Linked DNA regions of Homo sapiens: all the other regions are linked to region 2. The links are contacts of gene promoters, found by promoter capture Hi-C in human tissues and cell types (Jung and others, 2019). All regions are on one chromosome and are shown on one strand. Each heading gives the region's core, a stretch centred on a gene start or on the middle of the fragment in contact. The rest is flanking DNA. Distances are from core to core; before and after follow the strand shown.

Region 1 (3,327 bases), core at 267-2,766, 95 kb after region 2:
GAGAGCAGCCTGGCCAACATGGTGAAACCCCATCTCTACTAAAAACACAAAAATTAGCCAGGTATGGTGGCGTGTGCCTGTAATCCCAGTTACTCGGGAGGCTGAGTGAGCTGAGATCACGCCACTGCACTCCAGCCTGGGCTACAGAGCAAGACCCTGTCTCCAAAAAAAAAAAAAATTAGCCGGGCATTGTGGTGGGTGCCTGTAGTCCCAGCTACTCAGGAGGCTGAGGCAGAAGAATGGGAGGCGGAGCTTGCAGTGAGCCAAGATCGTGCCACTGCACTCCAGGCTGGGCAACAGAGCGAGAAGACTCTGTCTCAAAAAAAATAAACACAACAGGTGGATTTCTAGGGTTGGAGTTGTTACAACGTACCTTGTGTAGCCTGGCACAGATTGATGTGTATGGGTATCCCAGACACACTCAAGGGGTGAGATGGACCATTTTTCTTGTACACCTTGGCTTTCAGCTGAGGTCATTAGAAGGGGGCTCAAATAGTCCATTTGGACCTCCCTTCCTTCCCCTCGAAAAATGAGTAGGCATAAGTGATTATTCCCTTGTCTGCAGCTCCCTAACTGGCAGTATAACACAGTGTCTCCTTTTTTATCGGCTATTACTGTTTTCTTTTCCCCAACCTATTAAAACTTGAGCTGTCAGACCAACAGCCTAACATTTTCATGTTTAGTTTTCCCTACCAACTAATGCTGGTGTTTGTTTTAATATTGTAGTGCCAAGACCCGACGCATTAGACAATGAGAGGTATGGAACACTAATTAAATCCCTTTTTGTTGCTCTGATTCATTCTCTTGTAATATTCTGGTTACATGTTGTTAACCCCATGTTCTGGACACACAGTGTAAACTGAGAACCTAGGCTGTTCCAAATGATCATTTTAACACATCCTAAAGTTCAGGCAGCAATATGTTGAGATGGCCTGTGTCCTCTGATCTTTACAAGAGAAGTTTCTGAAAAAGAAGCATTACAGTGCCCCATAACCTGACATGCCAGGGAATCAGCTGCATTATTCAGTCCCAGTGAGAAAACTTAAAGGCAGCTAACTTCATTTGTCTCCTGGCTTTTATACCAGGTCATTTAGTGTTTTCTGTGACCTCTGGCTATTTAAAGTTCCCGGTCAGAAAACACATTGGTTCCTGGCATCAGCAAGTCAAAGCCAAAGATTCCTCTTGTGTCTTACAGCTCCTGCTTTCATTTCTCAGTTCATCCACTCCATTTGTTTGATCCAAAGAATTTTCTCTGCTGTGGTTTATTTTGGTTTTGCTTTATTTATTTTCTTTCTAAGGGGCACATCCACCATTTCCTCCCCCTTAGCAGCAGTGGTGTCAGTCAGACTATGCTCACTTTTATCCCTGGATTGCAATCACAGGGAATTGGAATGGTCTGAGTGCAAGGAAGAAAACGTTTCTAAGCACAAAGGGCCTTGGAGCTGGGGACAGGTTTACACACGTGGATTGGGCTGCTTGCTCATAGGGTGGAGTTGTCAGAACAAGTTTGTCCTCCTTGTACCTAAATTCAGATTTCAACCTGGTGAGCCAAGAAGAAAGTCATGCTTCACCTCCAAAGCACCTGGGCCTAGTCACTCCCCAAACCCCATTTAAAACCGGAAGCACTGGCTGCCTGCACAGCAAGATGGGGGGACCCTCAACACCCTCCTTTCACAGCTCCCCCTTCTCTCTCCCATAGCTGGGGCTTTGTGCACCCTCGGTTGCTCAGCGTGCCCGAGCTCTGCCACCATGTAGCTGAAGTCTGGGTTAGTGGGACCATTTTCATAAGGAATGTTTTGCTTTTCAAAAAGCAAAACCCAGGCAAGGTAAGACTCTTCCCTTTTTCACTTTCATCTCTGGCCTCTCAGTTCAGTTCATGCTAAACTGAAACAGCTCCTTTACTATGTGTCTTCATTCAAGAAAGTAAAGACTATGATGTTCATAGAGACAAAAGGAAGCTATAGGAAAGGCCTTCTGACCAGCCATTAGGACTAACACAGGAGCTTGGTGACTGCTCATTTGGTGTGGTTGCCACTTAGATGAGGCCGTTTTCTTGCTTCAAGATAGGAAAGAAAGCTTTCTTGTGTACATTCTGTGTCATATTAAATATGTGATAGGTTGTTGTGTTTTTTTGGGTTTTGTGTGTGTTTCTGTTGACTTAAAAAACCACCACCAACATTGCTTTCAGAGAGAATTTTTGGCTAAGTCCTATTCAAACCAATTTCTTGGCAGGAAAGGTGCAGCCCTATGGGGTTAGCCATGTAAAAGGAGTTTGAATAGAAGGGGACATGCTCCTTTTCTTCCCAAACAGAATCACCTTTGGATGCAACAGTGGCTGCACGTCCATGCTTGACTTACAGAGTCTTTCTGTCATATCTCTACCCTAACCCTTCACACCCACCCCAGTCCCCTGCCATGTGACAGAAACTTAATACTCTTTCTTGATTCCCCAGTTCTGCTTGCTGAGCTGTGGGATACTGACCTTTTTGGCTGTCTTGGGCCGCTACGTCCCTGGGCTTCTGCTGTCCTACTTGATGCGTAAGTATGACATATACCTCCCCTACAAAGTATACCCTGCTCATAGCTTTCCAACTATGGCTAACTCTAGGTGTGGGGAGAGGACTGTTATATTTCAATTCTCTAGGATATGACCTTTGCATATTTTCATGACCTGTTTAGTGTCATGAAAATATCCTTCTTTAGCAGGCTCTCCACATACAAAGTTCATTTCTTACCAAGTCAGAAATTGATGAGGGTCCACTAACATATATTGTTGGTATTACCAACTATAAAGGACTGCCTGTCCCTGTTTAAGGAGAGAATTTTTAGAGCCAGGGTATTGTCAGCAGAACATAACTCTTAGGGGTTTCTCTGCTAGGTTCTATTTATGCCAGAGTACTTTTTTCCCACTTGGAGCATAGTTTTGTAAATTTAGTTACTTCCTGTTGGCATGTACTCAGCTTGCTTGGGGCTGGAAGAACTAAGTACTTATGCCTGTGGCTTTTGTATATCAAAACCTCGCATGATTTGTTGTGTAATTTCCATTTATGGCTCAGTGACACCCATTGCCAGGTTCTGCCCTTGGCCTGTCAGCAGCATACTGTGCTGTGCACAACCCTGCAGTAGGCTTTGTGGGTGGCTGTAGAAGTCCCTGCCCTCAAAGACTCCTTCATGTGTAGGGGAGACTGGTGAAGATGACTGGCAGACTTGGGCAGATCTGTTCCACACTTTGTGTCCAAGCCCTAAGGACCAATAGCAGCGCTACAGTTGGGAATGTTTTTTGCAGCCCCTTCTCCATTTTGTCACTGTTTCCCATGCCTCCTCACA
Region 2 (3,256 bases), core at 401-2,900:
AACCCAAGACACCAATCCAGCTCCAACCCTAGCCTCAATCCAACTCGGCCCCCAAAACCTGCACCATCCCCAAATACAGGCCTTGCACCCAACCTCAGCCAGTGCTAGCACCATCACCAGCTCCATGTCCAGCCTTAGCATCAGTCAGGGGCACCAGCTCCTGCTTGGATCCCTGCCACAAAACCCAGCCCCAGCCACAAACCCCAGCCCTAGCCACAAACCCCACCCCTTGGCCAGCTCCAAAGTCCAGCCTTAAGCCCTGGCAAAACCTTAATCCTAGTATCGGTCACCAGTATACACTTATCCCCCAGCCCTAGCCTCAAACCCAGGCACCAGCTCCTGCTTGGATCCCAACCCCAAATCCCTGCCCGCTGACTTCATCCTCTTCCCAGAGCCCAGCCCCAGCCCCGGGCGCGCGCGGCAGCCTCAGAGCTGCAATGCGGAGCGCGGGGGAGAGGCAGGAAAAGATGAGAGCCAGCGGGCGCGCGCCGGCCGGGAAGGACCCGCGACCACCCAGCCGCAATGCGGTTCGGGGCCGCCCTGCAGGCTCTGGACTCCTGGGCCCAACCCCACCTGCCTCCAAGCCCAACACTCACAGTAGCCCCAGCCCTCGGCTCCTGAGACCGCGGCGAGCAGGATGCAGAAGAGCCGGAGATGCATCATGCAGGGCTGACGGTCCCGGCAGCCGCCTCCCTGTGAACGGCTCCGGCTAGGGCTCGAGTTCTGGCTTGGGCTCCAAGCTCTCCTCCTGGGGTTTGCAGCAGACCGCTCTCTCCTCCTTACCCACCCTTCCCTCCCTCTCTCCTTTCGCCCCCAAGCGCTCTGTCTCTCCTCTCTCTTTTCTCTCTCTCTCTCTCTGGTTCCTGGTCCTCCGCTCTTCTCTCTCTATCCTCTCCTTTCCACCCTCTTTCCTCTCACCTCCCCCCTTCCCCAGCCTCTGTCTCCTGGCACGCGCCGGTTTCCCGGACCCCGCGCAAGCGCGTGCCTCAGCCCTGCTGCGAAAGGGCGGGGGTAGAGAGCCTCTCGCCACCGGGAAAACCCCAAGTAACCCGAGGCTGCCCGGGACTAGGGCCACAGGAGTGAGGACAGGGAACCTAGGGCCAGAAGCATCCTGAAAATTTCAAGAAAAGGGAGGTGGTTTGGGGGAGGGGTGCCTGGAAATGGAATGAAGGGTAAGTAAAAGAATCTTAACATTTTCGGAAGGCAAATTATGCTCTAGGAGTGGTGCTGGGCACTGTGAATTTAGCATTTTTGCCCTACTCCACTTTGCAGATGAAAAACCTCAGGCTCAGAGAGGTCAAGAAACTTAGTCAATATCACACAGCAAATGATTATATTCCGAAGCCCGTTCTTTCTTCACTGACAAAGACAGTAAATTATTTTTTCTTTCTTTCGTTCATTCTTTTTTCTTTCTTTCCTTCCTTTTTTTCTTTCTTTCTTTCTTTCTTTCCTCTTTCCTTCCTTTCTTCTTCTTTTTTTTTTTTTCGTAAAATCCAGATCCTGCACAAGAGAGTGAAGTCTTTTGGAGGAGGTGGAATGGGAAAGTGACCCCGTAGACCCTAATCCCCACCTCCCTCTCGGCCCCTCTCCCCGCCTCTTCCTTCCTGTCCCGCTAGTAGTTTAACTTCTACCCCCTGTGGCTATACCTCAGAAACCTGTGTAGCCAGAGATGGGGACGGAGGCCACAGAGCAGGTGGGAGTGGGGGCAGGGAGGGGGAGAAGGGTTACAGAGAGGGAGGAGACAGGGAAGGAATGGGATTCCCCACCTGGCAATGGGCCTCTGCCATCCTATGGCTTATTCAGGATTCTTGGCGCTGTCTCAGACTAGGGGTCCTCCAGATAAATGGGCTGGTGGTGTGAGGCTGGGGTTGTGGGACAGGGACTAGGGCTGAGGGGAAAGGCGGGTTGAACCTAGAGGTCCAGGGTCCCACCTGGGCCCTGAAAACCTGAGTCCCAACCCTGGAGACCCCCTTGGCATGAGTGGTTCAGTGTGCTGGTATTGGAGGTACAGGGAAGGTGGGTATGGAAGGGAAAGAAGAGAAACAGAAACCCACTCCAGACGGAGGTTGGAGTCCAGGGCTCAGGTCTGAGGCAAAGCCTGCATATGGGCATCCTTCCAGGAGAGGGCGCTGCAAAGGGAACTGAAGCTGTAGGATTTATTAATAATACAAACTTTGGGCTGGGCGTGGTAGCTCAGGCCTGTAATCCCAGTACTTTGGGAGGCCAAGGTGGGCGGATCACCTGAGGTCAGGAGTTCGAGACCATCCTGGCCAACATGGTGAAACCCCATCTCTACTAAAAATACAAAAATTAGCTGGGCGTGGTGGTGGGCGCCTGTAGTCCCAGCTACTTGGGAGGCTGAGGCAGGAGAATCTCTTGAACCCGGAGGCGGAGGTTGCAGTGAGCCGAGATCGTGCCACTGCACTCCAGCCTGGGCGACAGAGCAAGACTCTGTCTCCAATAATAATAATAATAAATAATAATAATAATACAAACTTTGTATTATGGCCTTTGGAGAACACAGGTTCTCCCCATCCATTATTTTCCATATTGCCATCTTCACAGCAAACCTTGAGAGGTGGGCTGGTCAGGATTTATAATCTCAACATTACAGGTTAGGTAACTGAGGTCTAGAAAGAGCAAGTGGCTTGCTCAAGGTCACCCAGGAAGCTGGAAGCAGAGGTAGGAGGGGTGCAAGGGAAGCCAAGGCCTGCTGAAGGTGTGCTAGGAAGAGTCTGGAGAAGAGCTTATGTCTCCCCGTGTACTGTTACATCTGGCCACACAGGAGCTCTCAGCTTGGAAGGCAAGTGTGGGCGGGGGAGTTGTGTGGTCAGATGTGTCTCATAAGATCCCGCCTCTCATTTGACCCTCCCAGGTTTCCTGGGGCCATTACTCTGGGGATGAAGAGGACGCATACTCGGCTGAGCCACTGCCGGAGCTTTGCTACAAGGCCGATGTCCAGGCCTTCAGCCGGGCCTTCCAACCCAGTGTCTCCCTGACCGTGGCTGCGCTGGGTCTGGCCGGCAATGGCCTGGTCCTGGCCACCCACCTGGCAGCCCGACGCGCAGCGCGCTCGCCCACCTCTGCCCACCTGCTCCAGCTGGCCCTGGCCGACCTCTTGCTGGCCCTGACTCTGCCCTTCGCGGCAGCAGGGGCTCTTCAGGGCTGGAGTCTGGGAAGTGCCACCTGCCGCACCATCTCTGGCCTCTACTCGGCCTCCTTCCACGCCGGCTTCCTCTTCCTGGCCTGTATCAGC
Region 3 (3,232 bases), core at 733-3,232, 110 kb after region 2:
GGAGGTGTTTGTGCCTGGGACTATACTACCTGCCCACCCCCTAGGGTGCCTGGGACTGTCTGAGTGGGTCAGGGCACAGGGAAGCTAAACTATGCAGGGCCCTCCCGCACTGGCTGAGGCACAGGCCTCCCTGTTCACCTTGATGGCGTCCCTCCTCTTCTGCTCAGCCTGAGTGTGTGCGCGCCGCCGCCGGTCTTTGTAGGACTCCTTGTAGGCCTCCTGGTGGTAATCACTGTCCTCATCATCTACGCTCAGAGATGGGGGCAGGGAAAGGTCATCTTGGGGCCCAGTGGGGTCCAGCTAGCCCACCTTTCCCCAGCTGGGAAGAACCTGGTGTCCAGAGAAGGCAGATGGACAGAACCACCTAATGTTCCAGATGAGGTGAAAGATGGTGAGACCTTGTGTCTGATACTTTGGCTCCAGCACCCCTGTGTGGATGGCTGGGGCTTCCCTGTCTAGGAAAGGTACTACAATTATGACATATCTGAGCCCCCCGAGGTCGGGGGGGATGTTACTGCCTACCTGTGTTGGGGACAGAAGAGGCACTGGTGGAACCGATGCTATTAGCTCTGGACACTACACTCCCCTTGCGGGTGCTTTCTACAAAAAGCCCTGGAAAAGAGAGGCCCCAATCACTAAGGGGTGGGGTGGGGAACATTGCCAGACCCTCAGACACCTGTAGGACACAATGGCTTTCTTTTATTTATTTATTTTTTTTTTAGACAGAGTCTCGCTCAGTCGCCCAGGCTAGAGTGCAGTGGCGCGATCTCGGCTCACTGCAAGCTCCGCCTCCCAGGTTCACGCCATTCTCCTGCCTCAGCCTCCCGAGTAGCTGGGACTACAGGCGCCCGCCACCACGCCCGGCTAATTTTTTTGTATTTTTTAGTGGAGACGGGGTTTCACCGTGTTAGCCAGGATGGTCTCGGTCTCCTGACCTCGTGATCCGCCTGCCTCGGCCTCCCAAAGTGCTGGGATTACAGGGGTGAGCCACCGCGCCCGGCCACACAATGGCTTTCTTAAATGCTGACCTCTTCCCTTCAACCCAAAGCCAACCATACTGGGCCCCCCACTTCCTGCCAGACCACGCTGCAGTGCTCTGCTCCCTAGTGTCTACACTGCTCCATAGGCCTGCATGATACCCCCCTGGCTCACAAACGGGCATGTGGACGTGATGAGGGTGTGAGTGATCAGCTGCTCCACTGAGTGGTGAGTGATCAGTTCCACCACTTCCCTGTTCCAGAGCAGAGGGAACTAGGTGTCACCCTCAGTTGTTTTCTGCCCTTGTCCTTCAGCTCCTGCTGTCTCAAGCCAGGAACTCTGCTCAGGGAGAGTGGACTGTGCTCAGGCGTGGTTGGCAACGCCACAAGAATCTAGAGAGCCTGGGCGGGAGTGTCCCTCTAGAGCTTAAGATGGGGCAGCTACTCACCGGGGTCCAGGCTGTTGTCGCTGTAGGCATACTCCACCTGCGGCACAGAGCACGGGAAGGGCCCGTCAGACCTCCGCCCCTAGGGGGAGGCGCCCCTTCCACTGCAGGCACGCACAGCGCGCCCCCCATTCCGGGAAGGCGCCTCTGTCACCCTGCGCGCTTGCACACACACAGCCCGGGGTGCGCGGGCAGCTTAATGAGTCCCCCGAGACTGGCACAGGCTAGGGCGTGCGAGTGCCTCCCCTGTGTATGATCCCTTCCGCCCCTACTCCACCCCAGTGCCCCGTTCCCCCGACTCGCGCGCACACGCCTCGTTTGTCTCCCCACCTTGGCACACGCGGGGTGAGAGCTGTCTTCTCTGCAGCCCCGGGGCACGGAGAGCGTGGGGGACTTTGGGGACAGGAGGGAAGCCCCTCGTCTTCCGGCCCCCCTACGTGCACGAGCCCGACCCGCCCTCCCCTCGCCGGCGTGCGCGCCCACGGGGCTTGCCTTGACCCAAGGGTCCTCGGGAGAGGCGCCCGGCTCCGTCATCTTGTACCCACCGGACCGGAAACGGGCCAGCGGGCGGGCCCCCTGCGGCGAGGAAGCGGGTGGCGTGCCCACGTGACCCGCGCCCGCCAATCCGCGACCGAGAGGTGGGGCAGGGCGAAGCATCGCGCATGCGCAGCCCAAAGACTTTACTCCACGGTTCCAGCCGTCAAGGCCCGGCGCTTGGCCTGGCGCCAGCCTCCTTCGAGACTGCTCCCCGCCGTGCCTGCCCTCCCCGGGTTAGGCAGTGGAATGGCGGCGACATGAAGCGCGTTTTGTAAGATGGAGTCCCCTCAATTGGCTTGTCAGCACACCGCCGCAGATAGTGTGTGCACGCGCACTGTCCGGCCGGCCGGCTCCCCACGTTACCCTGAGGGCGGCCTCCCCGCGCTCACCGGACCTGCACTGCTGGCCGGTGTGTCAGGAACCGGGCAGAGAAGCCCCCAGCCACATCGTCCGACCCCACCAGGCTGCAAGCTCTGTGAGGGCAGAGGCCCCGCCTGGCGCGCGGAAGGCTGATCTTCCAACACCCAGCCCAGTGTCTGGCAGGATGCATGTGGAATGAACCCTTGCAAAGAACCTGCTAGCTAGGTTATGCGGCCTCTCATATTAAAAACAAAACAAAAACAATAAAACACGGCAGTACCTAGAAAGTCTACACCTTACTCAGAAGAACACAGCTGGTCAGTGGGAGGGCCAAAGCTCGCCTCTGGCTAGCCTCAAAGGCCATTCTCTTAACCACTGCATTGCCCAGGCTTCCAGCTCAGGCCTGGGCCCTGCACTTGTGGCTTAAGGATCCCAAAGATACTTAGGGGCATTGGAACAGGAAGCAGACACCATACAAGCAACATCTCAGAACATTCACCTTTAATTCTGTTACAGGTTCCAGTATTTGCGCTGGCCCTAGTCAGCTGTGGGTAAGAGTCACCCATGGGCAAGAGTGGGGAGGGGACTGCTCCCCCATGAACCACATCCTCAGTGTTGGCCAAATACCAGCGTGTTGGGTAGGCTTCCTGTGTCCACCAGGCCTGGCCATGTCCTGCACAGTATAGCTTGGACCTCTGGGCCTGAACCAGGGTGAGCATCAAGGCCCCCATTTCTCCTCACCACGGGGTCGCTTGTCAGCTCCAGGAGCCAGTCTGGCCCCACTGAGAACTTTTCAGTCGAGGGCCTGATGAGTCTTGGGAATGCGCTTCTGCAAGAGGGCCCAGGCTTTCTCCACCTTCAGACAGGCCAGGATGTTGGGAGGAAGAGAGGGCAGGGTCAGGCAGTACCCAC

The links. Contacts are between HindIII fragments. The study calls those that stand out against the background at their distance.
Region 1: a fragment that was not itself captured here is called in contact with the fragment with the promoter of CCR10 in region 2 in 2 of the 25 tissues and cell types used here (dorsolateral prefrontal cortex and lymphoblastoid cells).
Region 3: a contact is called between the fragment with the promoter of MLX here and the fragment with the promoter of CCR10 in region 2, in 1 of the 25 tissues and cell types used here (dorsolateral prefrontal cortex).

The regions. Positions count from the first base shown.
Region 1 is chr17:42,585,264-42,588,590 of GRCh38, reverse strand. RETREG3 (reticulophagy regulator family member 3) reads left to right here. Exons shown (of 9, transcript NM_178126.4): 3 at 727-757; 4 at 1,700-1,826; 5 at 2,454-2,538. Among named protein-coding and RNA genes, the nearest start is that of PSMC3IP, 9.2 kb to the right of the region's middle. The HindIII fragment of the contact is 8,959 bases long and covers 1-3,327 here.
Region 2 is chr17:42,680,237-42,683,492 of GRCh38, reverse strand. It overlaps CCR10 (C-C motif chemokine receptor 10), which reads left to right and starts at 1,650. Exons shown (of 2, transcript NM_016602.3): 1 at 1,650-1,693; 2 at 2,876-3,256. The coding sequence starts at 1,670. CNTNAP1 (contactin associated protein 1) reads right to left here and starts at 962. Exons shown (of 24, transcript NM_003632.3): 1 at 597-962. The coding sequence starts at 663. RefSeq lists enhancers at 508-557, 818-867, 811-1,429, 2,648-3,256 and a silencer at 1,968-2,262. The HindIII fragment of the contact is 6,302 bases long and covers 1-3,256 here.
Region 3 is chr17:42,565,850-42,569,081 of GRCh38, reverse strand. It overlaps MLX (MAX dimerization protein MLX), which reads right to left and starts at 1,982. Exons shown (of 8, transcript NM_198204.2): 1 at 1,916-1,982; 2 at 1,427-1,463; 3 at 523-612; 4 at 139-245. The coding sequence starts at 1,957. It overlaps COASY (Coenzyme A synthase), which reads right to left. Exons shown (of 9, transcript NM_025233.7): 9 at 2,805-3,176. The coding sequence ends at 3,114. RefSeq lists enhancers at 1,231-1,320, 1,196-1,703, 2,461-2,510, 2,717-3,223, 3,224-3,232 and a silencer at 1,721-2,120. The HindIII fragment of the contact is 10,895 bases long and covers 1-3,232 here.